6 separate regions of the Homo sapiens genome follow, and all the other regions are linked to region 1. The links are contacts of gene promoters, found by promoter capture Hi-C in blood cells and fetal thymus (Javierre and others, 2016). All regions are on one chromosome and are shown on one strand. Each heading gives the region's core, a stretch centred on a gene start or on the middle of the fragment in contact. The rest is flanking DNA. Distances are from core to core; before and after follow the strand shown. Region 1 holds the start of TLR3 (toll like receptor 3). Region 2 holds the start of SORBS2-AS1 (SORBS2 antisense RNA 1). Region 3 overlaps SORBS2 (sorbin and SH3 domain containing 2). Region 4 overlaps SORBS2 (sorbin and SH3 domain containing 2). Region 5 overlaps SORBS2 (sorbin and SH3 domain containing 2). Region 6 overlaps SORBS2 (sorbin and SH3 domain containing 2).

Region 1 (2,517 bases), core at 6-2,505:
TCTGAGGACGAGTCTCTTTCATTGAAGGCCAAAGAAACAGTCTACCTCAGAGGGTTGCTGGGGAGCTATAATGCAAAGAATAAACCTCACCCTGCCTTCAAGGCGCTCACAGAGAAGAAATCTTTTGAATATTAGTGAAGTTTTCCTGGACATCCCAATGGATAGATGTGAGGGACAGTCACGTACTCAGGACATCTGTTTGCTTATGGTGTTATGTTACAGATGTCACAAATGAAAATCAGAGACATGTAGCCCTGAGCCCAGTAACTATAAAGCGGTCTAGCTGAAGCTGGAGCCCACAAGAGGGCACTTTGCACCATGATGCACGCTTGTTTCTTGCCATCAGCTCTGCAATGAGTTCAAGCTAATGCCATGTCCCAGCCGTCCAGTTGTTTTATGACTTGTGTGATTGAAGCATATGGTGGCTTGTGGCATGTTCTTAGGCAAACCACTCACCTCCCTAGGTTTCGTTTTCCTAATTTCTCAAACAAGGGAGTTAGATTAGGTGGTCTATAGTTCCTTCCAATTGTGATATTTCACTATATAACAATATAGTTATAATAGATCATAGCACATCTGTAATGAAAAAAAGTGAGTTCATTTCTTAACAAGTACATTTACTTAACTAGTTGGAGTCATTAAAGCAAATTAAGAACGAAATTCTTAGTTAATCTGAACTTTTCTGGGCATACTGATCTGTTCCCTAACGCGTCTGACCGTGGAAAAGTGGATCAGCAGGAGTGGGACTGGCTCTCAGCTTTGCCATGTTTGGCTCTTTCTCTGCTGTGAAACTCAGTTTCTTCCTGGATCAAGAGGTTAATTTCTGCCGGTGTTATTTTACAGTGTTGCAAAGAGATAAAAGCCAGACGAAAGAAGGGAAAGTACTTCAGCTTTGATTAGGGATTTTTTTTTCTGTCCCTGTGACCATACACTACTCAATTCTGACAGCTTCGCATGAGTCTAGCAGAAAATTGAGGGATTCACTGTTATTCCTTAACTTGCAGAGGTCCAGACCCGCCCACATCAAATGGTGAGGTCCCCACTTTCAACTTTAGCTGTTGCTAAATCTGTGACCCTTTCAATGAAATCCAAGGATCTCAGCTTAAAAAAAGTTAAAATAAAATAAAAACTAGGTGTTTTTCAGAGGCGGTTTGAAACGCCTCTCTGAGGTTGTCAGAGATTGTTTTTGTTTTCTCCCTTTGCCCTTCTTGGAATGCACCAAACATAAAAGCATTTTTTTTCAAGCTTTACTTTCACTTTCGAGAGTGCCGTCTATTTGCCACACACTTCCCTGATGAAATGTCTGGATTTGGACTAAAGAAAAAAGGAAAGGCTAGCAGTCATCCAAGTAAGTGAAGGTGTTCATTTCACGTTCTTACTGGGCAGGGTCTCTCTTGCTGAGTAGAGTTTGCTAGCAGAATGCATGTGGTTTTAGCCTTCTTTGGTCTTTCTTTGATCTGGTGCTTGAAATCTAGTCAGAATTATTCAGGAAGGAAAGTGGAAGAAAAGGGATATGATATGGGCATGGGAGAAGGGTATAACTCAGAACACAAGTAATAGCACCAATATCTAGTTAATGTGATAATGTATTTATGCAGTATTTAATTTTTTTCTCTGTAGCATTCTGTACCTGGAAAAAACACATTAGGGAAGCTATGGAAATCATTTTGCAACAGTCTTTTTAGCAAATCACATCTTTGCCTTAAAGAAACAAAACTCCAAGAGGTTAAAAGAGCGTATCCCCTTTTGTTAGTTTTATTGGCTGGAGGGGAGACAGGAGCTGGCATTGTATGACAATGTCTTAGATAGGAGAGAACATTCAGGTATGCCTAGGAGTAAGTAAATGGCTTTCTTTCACCTAATGAAGGATAATGGAAGAAGTGGAGAAGTGGAAAGTTGTTAAGGTGTATGGGAAGATCAGAAACTGGTATCGGCAATTGTGGGGTACTCGGGTAAAAATGGAGTTGGCTTCAGCAAGTTGATTCCCAGGTTTACAGATGATTACGTGCTGGTATGTGTCTTCATATGGGCGTGCCTGTGTATGAACCTACTACAAAGGTTGCAAAGTTTACAAATCAAACTATGGATAGTGGTTAACTCCAGGTAGTCTGCCTCCAGACCCCATGTCCTAACCATCAGGCAATATTGTCTCTCACTTGGACAAAGAATGTGAATTCCATGTGCCCTCACAAAATATTTCCAAAATTCTAAGGCTGAGTGAGTCTCTTTTTAATTTTTTTTCATTTTCTTTATTTCTGCTAGATCTCATTCAACAGCAACGTTTTCTTCACTCTCATTTCATCCTTTAACTGCATTTTTGCTTGTTTTACTGAAGCATGTCCTAGAATAACCTTTTCATACAGATCGTATGGCTATAAACTTACTGAATTTTTGCATATCTCAAAATACTTATACCTTTTTATTTAGTTATTCAGATGGATGTGAAATTTCCCTATCTTATTTTATTTTATTTTATTTCATTTTATTTCATTTATCGATTTAGAGACAAGGTCTCGC
Region 2 (2,517 bases), core at 14-2,513, 480 kb before region 1:
TGTGTACACACAGTGAAATCTTACCTACTAGTATTGCTTACAGATACTTTCAGGTGTCTGTTAGAATAATTCTTTGCACCTCTCACTAACACTGCTTTTACTTACATTTTTTCAGATAAATAAAACACTAAGAGCTCATTGTTCATGATGCTGATCATTACATTTTAATATAAAATAGCGATGCAACTTTACAACACAATAGTTTTCCCCTGTAGCCTAGCTCAGCCTCTTGTATTGTCATGATTATTACCGAAGGCTTTTATTTACTTACTGTTTGCACTTCTAAAAAATGCAAACAAATTGCAGAAAAAGACTCCTATTTGAAAACTCACATTCAATCAGCAAAATCACACTCATCCAAATTAACTCGCCTCCTCTTGCTTTAAAGGTTGTAATCACTGTGCATATTACAACATGTATGTGCAGGCAAACAATAGCTAAAGTACAGTTACAGTTGTCATATTGTGTAAACCAAGACACTAGGCAAACTTGTGAAAAGAATACACACTGCCAAGCGAAGAATATGAAAATGCAAACCACAGCATTCCCCAATAAACAATTTTCTGGTCGTCTTGGGGGAGAACATCGCCTGGGGGGAGATGTTGAAATGGAGCCACGAGGCTGGACAGCCTCCTGGAGACACTTTTTTTTTTTTTTTTTGCCTCAAATATTTGACCATTTTTAAATATCATGATTTTTTTCTTTCTGATCCCACATTTTGACGTGTCAAAGCTTAGAGCAGGAAGTAGGAATCCACACTTTCACGGAGGGGGACCAGCCTGCCATGTCGTCCCCAGGCTCACAGCAGCGGCGGCTACTCTGCTGGTGGTTTGGTGGCAGGTGGAGATGGTGACGGCGCATTGGAAACCGTAAGGCATGACAACGGGAGGCCCGCGGGGTGTTTCAGGCGCGTTGACGCAGGTGCATGGCTGGCAGGCGGCCTCTACAGAAGGAGGGAGCGCAATTCACAGCCTCTTGACGTAGTTTCCGGGGAAAGTACCAAAGAATTTGGTTCTTCTTGAGGTCCCTGAAAATAGAAGCGAGTCATGAAAGGGGGGTGACAACGATATCAGTTCATACACATGGGCTTGAATACTTCCCATTTACAAGGCCTCGGAAGACAGCAAGCCCCGAGGGGTTTGGAAAAGAAGGCAGGCAACTCACATGAAGCCCATAGGCAGACAAAATAAGCAGTGTTAGCTGGTTGCCTGACGCTCTCACTGCCCCTCCGGCATAAATGCTGCGCTGCCATCGCGGCAGGCTAAACAGAAATGCTGAGCCTCCCAAGCTAAAGGGAAAGTCAGCCCTGCTGAGGAGGGGGGCGGAGGAGCTCAGTCACTGAGGCTGCCACACCAGAGTCGGGGGTGAGGGATCAAGGCGAGGCTGACAGGTGACAGGGTGAGTGGAAAATCCTAAGAGCAAAGCTTCTCAGGGACCAGCAACCCGCGCAACACAGGTGCGACATGAAGACATCATCTGTGGCAGGCTGTCGCTGTTCCAACAGTTTTATCATCTTACAGAAGATCATGGTCAGTGCCACATCATTTATTTAAAAACAGCACTGCCAGAGTCCTTCATCGAGTATACAATTTTTCAACAATTTACAAATCATTAATGAAAAAAAGGATTAAGCACTATTTGTGTGTGGGAGTTCTATCAGTGGCATGATTTTTAACATGGTGTGTGTTTAACCACACGCACAAATGGCTATCATAATTATGTTCGCCTCTGGTTTCAAATAATGTAATTCCTTGGACACTTCTTGTAAAAGTTGGTGCACTAAATTGCTAAATTCTTCTTTAGGCAGCGCAGATGGACCGGATAAGGGTCTCTCAAGCTTCATCTGTCTCCTATATCCTGGCACTTACTGCCTTGGTTTGATGGCTGTTTTTCTTTTTCCTTGGCTAGGCAAGCCATTTTACGTTTCTCCTCCCTCCTCCTCCTCCCTCCTCCTCCTCCTCCTTGTTTTTGAGATGGAGTTTCGCTCTTGTCGCCCAGGCTGGAGTGCAGTGGCATGATCTCGGCTCACTGCAACCTCTGCCTCTTGGGTTCAAGCAATTCTCCTGCCTTAGCCTCCTGAGTGGCTGGGATTACAGGCACCTGCCACCAAGCCCAGCTGATTATTGTACTTTTGGTAGATACGGGGTTTCACCATGTTGACCAGGCTGGCCTCGAACTCCTGGCCTCAGGTAATCCACCCGCCTCGGCCTCCCAAAGTGCTAGAATTACAGGCATGAGCCACCGCACCCGGCCTTTTTTTCTTCTTTTAATGGAAATAAAATCAGAGGCTTGTGGCCGCACCAGGGCCTCAATTCTTTCATGATTTTGCCACCGATGGATGTCTAGAGTGAGCCCTCCTCTCCTCTCACCTTTCCTCTCTTCCATTCTCTGCCCTGCAGCCTGTGTTTCCTTTTCACCTCTTTCTGTGGCCCAGTGTAAAATACTTTTGTCTACAAATGTTTTCCCAGAAGACCTCTCGTCTTTTTTTTTAGGATGGTAAAGATGAAGTTGCCTTTT
Region 3 (2,517 bases), core at 12-2,511, 460 kb before region 1:
ACAGGTGTGAGCCACCGCGCCTGGCCCTTAAGAGATTTAATGCTTACTTACTTTAAACTATGTTGAAAAGATATTACAGGTTTCCAGATACTGACTTAGTAGAGTATAAATGACTCCAGAGAAATGTTAATGTAGAATGAAAACTAATAGTGAAGTCATTTTATTTCCTGAATGTGTGTAGTGTTCTCTTGTCCTGCAGGATAGCCCAATCTTTTAAACGCTGACAATTTTCTCACTTATGTTTGCAAGGTGATTACAACATATGAATAAAGTATTTTAGATCATTATATGTTAACAAATTTCTAAGTGAATAAGTTCTGAAAACTATGTCTCAAAGACAGGAACCCATGATCAGAATGAAGCTGAGCTTACATAACTACGGCTTCAAAGTTTTAAAAAATCCAAAGTAAATATTTACATAGAAAGCTCATTTGATGCTAACGGGAGGGAGGACTTCTGCTTCAGCTCCCGTTCTCTTTCAAAGCTTGACATTTATGTAAATCAGAGGAGGTATGAGTTATGAAGCTTAATCTTCTGAAGTAAAATATACTTACTTCTACATACGTAGTATTACTGATGTATTTTGGATATAGTAAATGAAACAATACATTTGAAATTTTATGCAAAGGTATTAAAAGTAGTTCTGATAAATATATACACCCCATATGTACCCATAAAAATTAGAAATTAAAAAATGTAGTTCCAGAAGTGCCACTTACTAACATTGGAATACGTTTATCTACCCTTACCGGACTAGAGAAAATGCTACCTGCTATGTGCCTAAAAGCCTTGAGAAGGGACCTTTCACTTTAGGTCTCTCCAGGTAGATGTCTTTGATTTGGAAAGAAAAACATCTCCAAAAAGATTCTGGAGATACACTTTCCAGCTGATTGTTTAGGATAACACTTTACACAGGGAAGCAGCCCTCTTGCTCCTGGGGACTTAGTGTGTGTGAGTGGGTGATGCATTTCCTACTTAACTTTTGACTCCTGTGTCCTATAGTAGGAGTGGGGTATTAATTAGATTTATTTAGCTTTTTTTTTTTAAGTCATCTTATCGTGGGATGACATAAATATCACAAAACTCATGTGAGCATCTTAATACAGGATTCAGGACCTGGGCTGCTTAGCTGCTGACACACAGTGAGACTGCACGTGTGGTTTGCGCCTAGGTAGACAGCCACTCCTGTTAAGTCCTGTAGATGCTGAGTTTTCAATGATATAAACCACTCAAGTCTCATTCAGCAGTCTACAGAAGTTCCCTTACTAGCTAGAGTTCTAGTTTATACCCCTTGTTACATAACACAGAAGTTTTCATAGTTAGATTTGGAAAGTCTGTGAAATATATAATAATTTCAGACCATCAGGTTTCCACTTTCACTTTCTGTTATGCCAGGAATATTATGTAGATGAGAAAGAAAGATCTTGAATTCCCTTGTCATTACTGCCACCATCACCATTGCTATCTGATGCTGCGACTACGCTGTGCCGTCACCACCACAGTCACCGAAATACATGTCAGCAGGTTAAACTGCTTAGCTTTATGATGGACTTGCTTATACCGAAAGCCAAATGAAGCATCCTGGTATAACTAGATCACAAACCTATACCTATAATACAAAACCCATACAATTATTTTGTTTTCCAAAAGCATCAGAATTGGATTCTAATGCACTAAAAGCAGAAATATCAGAAATAAAATCAACATACATTTTAGTCTCCCCTAAGACAAAGACAGTATGTCAAGAAATGTGATTTAAATGTGTCACCAGAGTGATTTATAAATTATTAATGAGTTCTCTGTTTGTAAATATCAGTTAGAAAATAGGTTCTGTAGCGTTTAGTATATTTTGGATGTTATCATTTAGAAATACATTATATTTATCTTTCTAAAAATGGTTGTCACTTCCGGGAAGTTTTCTTCATTAAGCCTGTGACATCACAGCATGGATTACCAGTTGGGATAAAACCATTAAGTATTTCTTCCTAATTATGGACATAAGCTTCTCAACATATTTTTTCCCCAGCAGTGAGCAATAAAAAACTGGTTATTAGTGAAATTTGTACATGCCTCTGTTTAAAATCTGGTATTACTTTAAAAACTTGAAAATATATTCAATTACAGTTAAATTGTATTCACATCAAAGATGAAAACATTGGGATCAAAAATATTATATTGCCATTAAATATTATATTAGGACATATGGAAGAATTTGTTAGATGTTTAATGAGCTTTTGTACATACATGCTTTTCTTCCTTACAACATTTTATTTGAAGGTACAGTTGCTTTGAAATTTCTGTGATAGTTATTTAAAGATGACTGAATGGTGGATAAGACAAATATATGCATGAAGATTCTTATCTTTTCTCTTTATCAATAGAAAATACTGAAGGAAGGATGCTGATCTGTAAATGCTAAGGTCTGGTAATGAAGTAAATATACTTAAGAAGATTCTGGAAAACTATAACCAATCAAGCAAACAAAATTGGATAGTACCAAACTCTTCCATATATTAT
Region 4 (2,517 bases), core at 9-2,508, 440 kb before region 1:
ATCTAGAAACATTTTATCAGAGTATTAAACATCTACTTAGTGGAAATCAAATCTCACTTTACAAACTATTTCTATAACTCAGTTTTCTATTAATTGGTAAATTAGCACCAATTAATCAATTAAAACAATACAATTTTGCAATTCTGTATGTATATCAGTCTTACAAGGTCCCTTTTGCATAACTTACGCTTCTATTAACTAATATTTTAATTTAATTCTATCTTACTAAATGAAAATGGAATCTTGTCTAGAAACAAAAGCATCTCTGCATGAGAATATTCCCATCCTCCTTTTAGACAGAAAAAGTGGATTGTAATATTTTTAGTTCCTAGAAAATATTTAGATTTCTAGGTTCTCAACAAATATAAAATCAGGAGAAAAGTTTGGTTTGCTAGTCTGATATGTGTACATGGTTATTTTAATTTGCTGAGCTCTGAATCAGACACTGGGAAGGTAGAAAAATAGATACTAAATATGAAAGAAAGCAAACAAGTAAAATAAAATCAGATCGTTATATTACAATTAAGAAATATTAATTCTACTCGTTTGCAGAAGAGCGACACTGAAGAGCCTGAGAGCATCGGCGTCTGTGCAGATCACGGCTTTCGTGGGACACCCTCACACACAGCTGATCACCAAAAAGTGTGAAGTTCACAACACTCTTAGAACAACCCTACAGTGATCAGAAAATTTGAATTGTCAACTTATAATGAGCCTAAACAATATTGTAATGTGAAATAAAACATAGTGTAAGAACTGATTGTGTTTTAGGGTTAGGCTAAGAAACTACTATTTCTCCTTGTACTGGTTTCTACATTCAAAATAAATGAAAACCAGTTTTGCGGTTTCATGTACACTCAGAGAAAGTTCAGTATTAAATTGTAAGATAAGAGTAAAAAATCTAGATTGATGACTGAGAGAAAAACTTGTACAATAATTGTAAGAAGTGTACTCATCCCAAAATGAAAATTATCTCCAGAAAAGAGGTTACAAATTTTACCAGTTATGATCTACTATTTACATATTACCATTATTTTAACACACTTAGAAGGTCAATTTAGTGAAGTACAGATACTGAATCACTCTTTCTGTTAAGTAGCTATGAGATTAAATTTTGCTTAAATATCCGTAACTGTTCTTCATTAATGCCAGTTTTCCAGTTATGGATTAAAATCTATGTTATTCATGGTATATACCAGGCAGTTGATAAACGGTAGCTAAGGTAATGTCTAATCAATTACATTTGTTTTTACCAGAAATGTTTAATAACAAAAGGTTATTAAAGACAAAATCCAGAACCTTAAGAGAATATATTTTCTTACATTCTGAAAAACTATAATGTGAAATTAATAACATAGTTAACATATGCTATTAGAATCATACAGCACCCCCTCTCAATCCCAGAGATAACTGGCAAATAGATCAACTACTGGCAAAGTGCTTTTTATGTGTTGTTTTTTTTTTTTTGCCACTACCATCACATAATAGAATGCATAGAGTTAAGTTTCTACTATTTTTATGCCCAAGAATTATTGTGTAATATTAATTAACAGAACTCTTTTCACAGGAATTCAATAGTTAACAAGAAATAATATTAAGTAAGTAATTTGTTTTTAAAAGATTTATCCTCTAAATATATATCTTGGAAGTGCTGAAAAGTGTGATATAAAGGAAATAGCACAGAAATGAAGGTTAAGAGAGATATATTTTTTTTTCTGCCACTATCTTACCATGTGATTTTGGACTTATTTCTTAAAATTATTGCACTCTACTTTTTTTTTTAACTGAAAAATGAGTGAATTGGACATGATGCACTCTAAATTCCATTTCAGTTATCTATGAACCAACTACCTTAAAAACACCCTAGAAATATCTGAGAAAAATATCTGACCACATTGAATTTCAAAATAAATTCTTGGGTTGTTCATATGTTGAAATAAGACTCTTTCTGCAGATATTAAGGTAACATAACATACAGAATATAACCCCTTGTTTTATTTGATTTTCTTCAGATTACATGCCTGCCTGCCTGGCTATAAAATGTAAGCCTTTAGAAATAACTGAATTCAATAACCCAGAATGTTCCTGATTACTCTATTTTACCTTTTATTTAATATATAAATATTTTGATCACTTCTCAGTTTTAACACACACTCTGATGTTTACCACAGGGTAAATAATTTGAAATTGCAAGTTGAGACGCTAGAAATTTGCATATTTTCTTGAGACTCTATACCTGCAATTCCAGTGGTCACCACTATGTGTCAGTAGTACCTCCTACAACACAACGGTTCTACTGGTTGTGTTTCCCAGTTGCACATATTTAAGACTTTTAATGAAAATAAGATATTTATTGTGTTATAGTATTCACTTAAGACCACAGAGCAACTAATGTGCAAAAAACAGTTTATTTACTTCGTTCCCATGCTAGTTGCTTCTAAGAGTTCCTTGCAAGGAGGCTTTTATATAGCTGATGGCTAGCAAAACAGTGCCATTTCTGCTTGTGTCTTCTAATGA
Region 5 (2,517 bases), core at 13-2,512, 410 kb before region 1:
AACTTGTACAGCCTGAATTCCTATGATAGTTCAATTTCGTATTTTTTTTGATATTTTAGGTTTTTAAGTTACATTTTTACAAACTAAGAAATATTTATGGGCCGGGCACGGTGGCTCATGCCTGTAATCCCAGCACTTAGGGAGGTCGAGGCAGGTGGATCACCTGAGGTCAGGAGTTCGAGACCAACCTGGCCAACATGGTGAAACCCCCTGTCTGTACTAAAAATACAAAATTAGCTGGGTGCGGTGGCGGGCACCTGTAATCCCAGCTACTCAGGAGGCTGAGGCAGGAGCATCACTGGAACCCAGGAGGCAGAGGTTGCAGTGAGCCGAGATCGCCCCATTGCACTCCAGCCTGGGCGACAGAGTGAGACTCCATCTTGAAAAAAAAAAAAAAAGTATTTATCACATTATTTTCTGAACTATCTGAACATACTTGACCATGTAAGAGCATTTCTATCACTGTACAGCAAAGCTTCTTTCACAGGAGGCCACAAAAAGTCCATGAGCCCCAGGAAATTATCTGCTTACAATTTTTTATGAACGTCCGTATGTCCATTTGTTTTCTGGAGGAGAGCTCTATCTTTCACTGAATTCCTAGTCCTCAGAGGGTTGAGAACGATTGCTCTATACAATGACAGAACCTTCATTTAAGGGAACACTTAAGTTTCTCTTGTGTGGCTTCCTGCTACCATATCCCTGACTGCAGGTCTTCCAGCCTTGGTTTGAATGGTGGTTTTCTCCTTGTGTGAGCCAGTAGATGACTGCGTCCCTGCTATGTGGGACAGCCTGTCCTCCTGTTACACTGTTTTAACTGTCAAACGATTCTCCCTTATATAGACCCCAGGAAATAGTCCATGGTGGAAGCTCTTCCAAGTCCGAACAAGCTGCCCTAGTGGAAAACCTGCATTCATGTCCTCCAGTGGCACAAACCCCCTTGCCCTAAGTAGCCATTTTCTTTTTCTTTCTACTCCACCACCTCAGACATCTAAGTGCCCACACCAGGCTCAGACACAGGTGGAGACATGGTCTTGGAATAGCATGGTGCCCATTTCCTCCCATGTTGGGTCCTCTGCCCCAGTTTCTCCCTGGGGATAGGGTCATGAGTGCTGAGCGCTCCCGCCTCACCTTGATGCCGCATATCTTTCTCCTGTGGTTGTACTTGCCGCATTGAGGTTGCCATGGAAATCACGGTGAGTAAATTACTTACCGAGGGATGTGCCGTGCTGCATGACAATGCTGGAGTTGAGTGAGGCTGGGAGAGAATATGCCGAGGGGGAAAACGGCCTCTGATAGTAACTCATGGGACTCACGGCACCTCCTGAGTTTCCATTCACTGTTATCTGGCTCTGAGAAAAGCGCAAAGGCATCGAGTTAAATTAGCACATAGTTCCCTGTAAACATCATTCCATTAGGTGATAATAAAAGACTTCCAATCACATGAGAGTAATCAGCTGCCAAGCTCTTATTTATTTTGAAAACTGATGTCAGAGGGCATGCTACATTCTTTGCCTTCTCTCTATTCCCTTATTTCTGAAAATCACTCTCTTGTGTATCTGAGGGTCCAGGGAGTGGTTAGGAAGAATGAAAGTGGCTGACTAGTGGGCATGCCACTCTGCCAACAGAGGTGCCAAATGGTATCAGTAGGAGTCAGTACCAAGTAAATGTGGAGGACGACTTTGCTCTGACAGTCGTAACATCAGCAATCAGAACACGGTGGTGCTGTTCCGCATGCAGCATTGACGTGGATGTCCTTTGACATGAGGCAAGGGATTGGTTCTCAGACTTAGTCAGGGATATCTTCTAGTGAATGAATGTTTCCAGAGCTGGTGAATAACATAAGGAACCTAGTTGTTTGGATGTATATATCATGAAGCAACCTATTCTAGAAGGATCAAATACCTGGTAAAGGATCAGAGAGACATGTTCAACCACTGGCTTCTCCCTACTTCAGCCTCATTGAGCACTTCATGAATCTCTGTTTGATTTCTTAATTATTCATTGTTTCGATTGTTCCGTATCTGACTATTTTATATCCCCAATGGTATCTCAAGCTTCTTGTTGAAGATGGTCATATATATGCTTCTTTAATATTTTGTATAACATGCAGCCTAGTGCTGATGACAGAGTAGATGTTCAATAGGTATCTATTCTGATGGAACTGAATCGGCTTAGTTCACAGATATCGAGCTCAGGACTATTAAGCATGCCTGTCTACCCACAGCACAGTACTGATCATTACAGGGCGCACACAATGCATGCAAATAAGATCAAACATTAGTAAGAACGTTTAGTTAAAATTATAGCTAAATACACACAACACACATAGGCACACAGATAAAGAAGCATAATTTGTGAAACTTTTCTACTTATTTTAAAACAAAACAAACTTCTATTCCACAGGCTTGAAACATAGATATAGTAACTGTGTATTTCTATGATTTCACTTTAAAGCAAATGGGTTTTCAAATGACCTAGAATAAGTCTAATTTCATTACTGTATAACCATACCACTTA
Region 6 (2,517 bases), core at 6-2,505, 330 kb before region 1:
TGGGAAAACAGTTTTAACAGTGCAGTGAAGCTTCCTGCCAATAAGCAAACCTTTCCACCCTCCGCTCAGCTACAGAAACACATTTGGGAGCTCCAGGGAGGAGGCGGAGGGGCACAGGCGCTCCCCAGTGTGGGCCACGCTCAGGTGTCCCTTCACAATGGCAGCCACACTGCTTCGTGAAACGGACACACTACGGGATGGAAAACAGTGAGAGGGAAGCCACGGCATCAAGAAGCAATAATCACAGAATGTTTTTGTGCTGTCCACGCCTTCCTCAACATCTGCCTCCACTTCCAAGTCAATCGAGACAGCCTGTTTATGTGGAGCTTTGAGATGACACATACACTTTACTGACCCTAGAACAATACCCTTTCCACATCTAAAGCAATTTTCGTGTAAATGACTGTGCCATTAACCTTCCAGGGTCATTCAAATATTTTCTGAGAAATTGGCTGCTTTCGGGATTTTCTTAGAATGCCATGTGTTTCATTTTTGTGCAGAACAGATGACAGGCGAGGCATTCCAACAGGACTTCAGTTGATTTAACTAATTCCTGTCAGGGGAAGTGAAGTGTTGGGATTCATAAAGCCGATCCCAGCCCGGAGATTTTCCTTTTCCCAAAACAGAAAAAACAAGACATGCTGTGTGGTTTTGCAACCGGGCAAGTTTCGAAATATTTTTAAGCTTTCTACTTTGCCAAGTATTTCATAAAAAAACTATTTTCTTTTTGTTTCGTGCCAAAAAATGTCACCCCTAAATATTTTTTCCCATATCTGGTCACATGTCCAGGATTTTTTCTTTTCTAAGAATAAATAATTTTTCTGGGTTATAAAAATTCCACTTGCTCTATCAGATTAAACATATCTTTATATAGAAAAAGCATCCGAAACATTCCCCAAGTGGGTCTAAGGGAGGAGTCTTAATACAATTTTGTTAAATTAATTTTGATTAAATATTAGGCCTTGAATTCTTTTTGTGACTCTCACAAAGTTCAGGCTTATTTTGTTACACTTTCAAGTCTCCCTTTTTTTCACTCTCCACATACTGTTTCCTTTTATTAGAAAGCATTCAAGAAGAATTGATTGGTGTGTTTGACCAAAATAATATGTTGGAAGTGATACCAGTGCAAGGGGACCCTCTGGGTTCCATTCTCTATTTGCATAGTTAGCTGGAGTTAGAAGGTTCAGCTGTCAGGGATTCAAGAACTCTAGCATCAAAAAAGTGTGAACTTGCAAATGAGCTGTCAAGGTTCATAGCAAGTGAATAATGCAGCTGAGAGCTGACTTGTCTCCACCCTGGTGTTCTATTGATCTTGCTGCTGGATAAAGCATAGGCACATAGGAACACTGAAAAATAGCAATTTGTATGGGTTGGACTGGTATTTTCTTTTTTACCAGTTAAAATGTTAATTACATTCACAAAGTCAAAAAGCTGAATAAATAGTCTTACAGTTGGAAATATAGGGCAAAACAAAACACAGGCTTGAAAAAGCAATAATAGCTATACACCTAAAATGTGAAAAATATTCATAGAGAAATGAATTGTAGGGCATTAACTCTTGCAAAACCACCAAAGGCCTGGTGGAATTAATATGCTACAGATTTGAAACTTAACATTGGGCAACTTAAAATGCATGTATTTGTTATTGATATTTAACTAATCCTTGTAAGTAAATCTACTATAAGCGAAAAGCATTCTAAATTGATGTTATTGCTAGTTTGCAGGGAAATTCTGAAAGTCTATGTGTTTGTTGGTGCATGAGGGGATGTGCGTATTGAGGTGTGTGTTCAGGATGAGGGCTTCTGGTCCTTTAGAAATGGTTCCCTCTAAGCTTCTTGGTTTCCAAATCTTCATCACTCTTTTTAAAATCTAAAAATGCAGGTTTACTTTATATGGAGAGCACATTGCTATGAGGAGATGTGACATTTCAGAAAGAGCACATGGCACTGATTCTGAAATGCTACCAAGTTGCTTCAGAATATACCCAAATTCTCTCAAAGATTAATGATACACTAAGAAACTGAAGGACACAGCAAATTATTTTGCTTGTCTTCAACCCACTGTCACCCTGCCACAAATTGAACCTAATAAAATTTCCATCCCTCTCCCATCTTATGATATGACCCTTCCCCCTCATGCATGGGGAAATTGTTATTTACATTGTGAAAATATCAAGCATCTCCAAACACTTACGTTTTGTGGAGCCGGGTCTCCCATGGTAAAATGAGAGCCCAACACGGTGAGTTTGCTTCCTAGGAATGGCAAATCAGCATCGCGATGCCCTCAAACCAGAAATAATACCCTTCATTTGCTGCAACTGGTTGAGTATCAGTGCTATAAAAAATAGATGATGGAAAACCGGAGCCCTTGACAGAAATACAAGTCTGCTGTGTGTGGCTTGTGCAGGAATGGAGCAGAGAGAAGCGGTGGTCTTGTCTACACATCATACTTGGGCTTCGCCCATGCTGACAAGTGGAAGCACATGCACAGTGGACACACGCTGTCAGGACATTCATC

What was found. Contacts are between HindIII fragments. The CHiCAGO score rates a contact against its expected background, and 5 or more counts as called.
Region 2: a contact is called between the fragment with the promoter of SORBS2-AS1 here and the fragment with the promoter of TLR3 in region 1, in 1 of 17 cell types (endothelial precursors). The highest score is 5.2, in endothelial precursors.
Region 3: a contact is called between a fragment that was not itself captured here and the fragment with the promoter of TLR3 in region 1, in 2 of 17 cell types (M1 macrophages and monocytes). The highest score is 6.2, in M1 macrophages.
Region 4: a fragment that was not itself captured here is called in contact with the fragment with the promoter of TLR3 in region 1 in 4 of 17 cell types (M2 macrophages, M1 macrophages, monocytes and 1 more); the score reaches 9.4 in M2 macrophages.
Region 5: a contact is called between a fragment that was not itself captured here and the fragment with the promoter of TLR3 in region 1, in 1 of 17 cell types (M2 macrophages). The highest score is 6.1, in M2 macrophages.
Region 6: a contact is called between a fragment that was not itself captured here and the fragment with the promoter of TLR3 in region 1, in 1 of 17 cell types (M0 macrophages). The highest score is 5.5, in M0 macrophages.

What each region holds. Positions count from the first base shown.
Region 1 is chr4:186,067,901-186,070,417 of GRCh38, forward strand. It overlaps TLR3 (toll like receptor 3), which reads left to right and starts at 1,256. Exons shown (of 5, transcript NM_003265.3): 1 at 1,256-1,348. The HindIII fragment of the contact is 1,902 bases long and covers 1,244-2,517 here.
Region 2 is chr4:185,586,662-185,589,178 of GRCh38, forward strand. It overlaps SORBS2-AS1 (SORBS2 antisense RNA 1), which reads left to right and starts at 1,264. Exons shown (of 4, transcript NR_186082.1): 1 at 1,264-1,529; 2 at 2,493-2,517. It overlaps SORBS2 (sorbin and SH3 domain containing 2), which reads right to left. Exons shown (of 27, transcript NM_001395207.1): 27 at 1-1,027. The coding sequence ends at 966. RefSeq lists enhancers at 361-1,560, 839-918. The HindIII fragment of the contact is 692 bases long and covers 731-1,422 here.
Region 3 is chr4:185,607,965-185,610,481 of GRCh38, forward strand. All of the region lies in intron 24 of SORBS2 (sorbin and SH3 domain containing 2), which reads right to left. Among named protein-coding and RNA genes, the nearest start is that of SORBS2-AS1, 21 kb to the left of the region's middle. The HindIII fragment of the contact is 1,477 bases long and covers 524-2,000 here.
Region 4 is chr4:185,632,018-185,634,534 of GRCh38, forward strand. All of the region lies in intron 16 of SORBS2 (sorbin and SH3 domain containing 2), which reads right to left. Among named protein-coding and RNA genes, the nearest start is that of SORBS2-AS1, 45 kb to the left of the region's middle. The HindIII fragment of the contact is 2,635 bases long and covers 1-2,517 here.
Region 5 is chr4:185,660,894-185,663,410 of GRCh38, forward strand. It overlaps SORBS2 (sorbin and SH3 domain containing 2), which reads right to left. Exons shown (of 27, transcript NM_001395207.1): 8 at 1,211-1,349. Among named protein-coding and RNA genes, the nearest start is that of SORBS2-AS1, 74 kb to the left of the region's middle. The HindIII fragment of the contact is 1,579 bases long and covers 474-2,052 here.
Region 6 is chr4:185,737,808-185,740,324 of GRCh38, forward strand. The region is part of intron 2 of SORBS2 (sorbin and SH3 domain containing 2); the gene reads right to left. Among named protein-coding and RNA genes, the nearest start is that of SORBS2, 73 kb to the right of the region's middle. The HindIII fragment of the contact is 1,147 bases long and covers 683-1,829 here.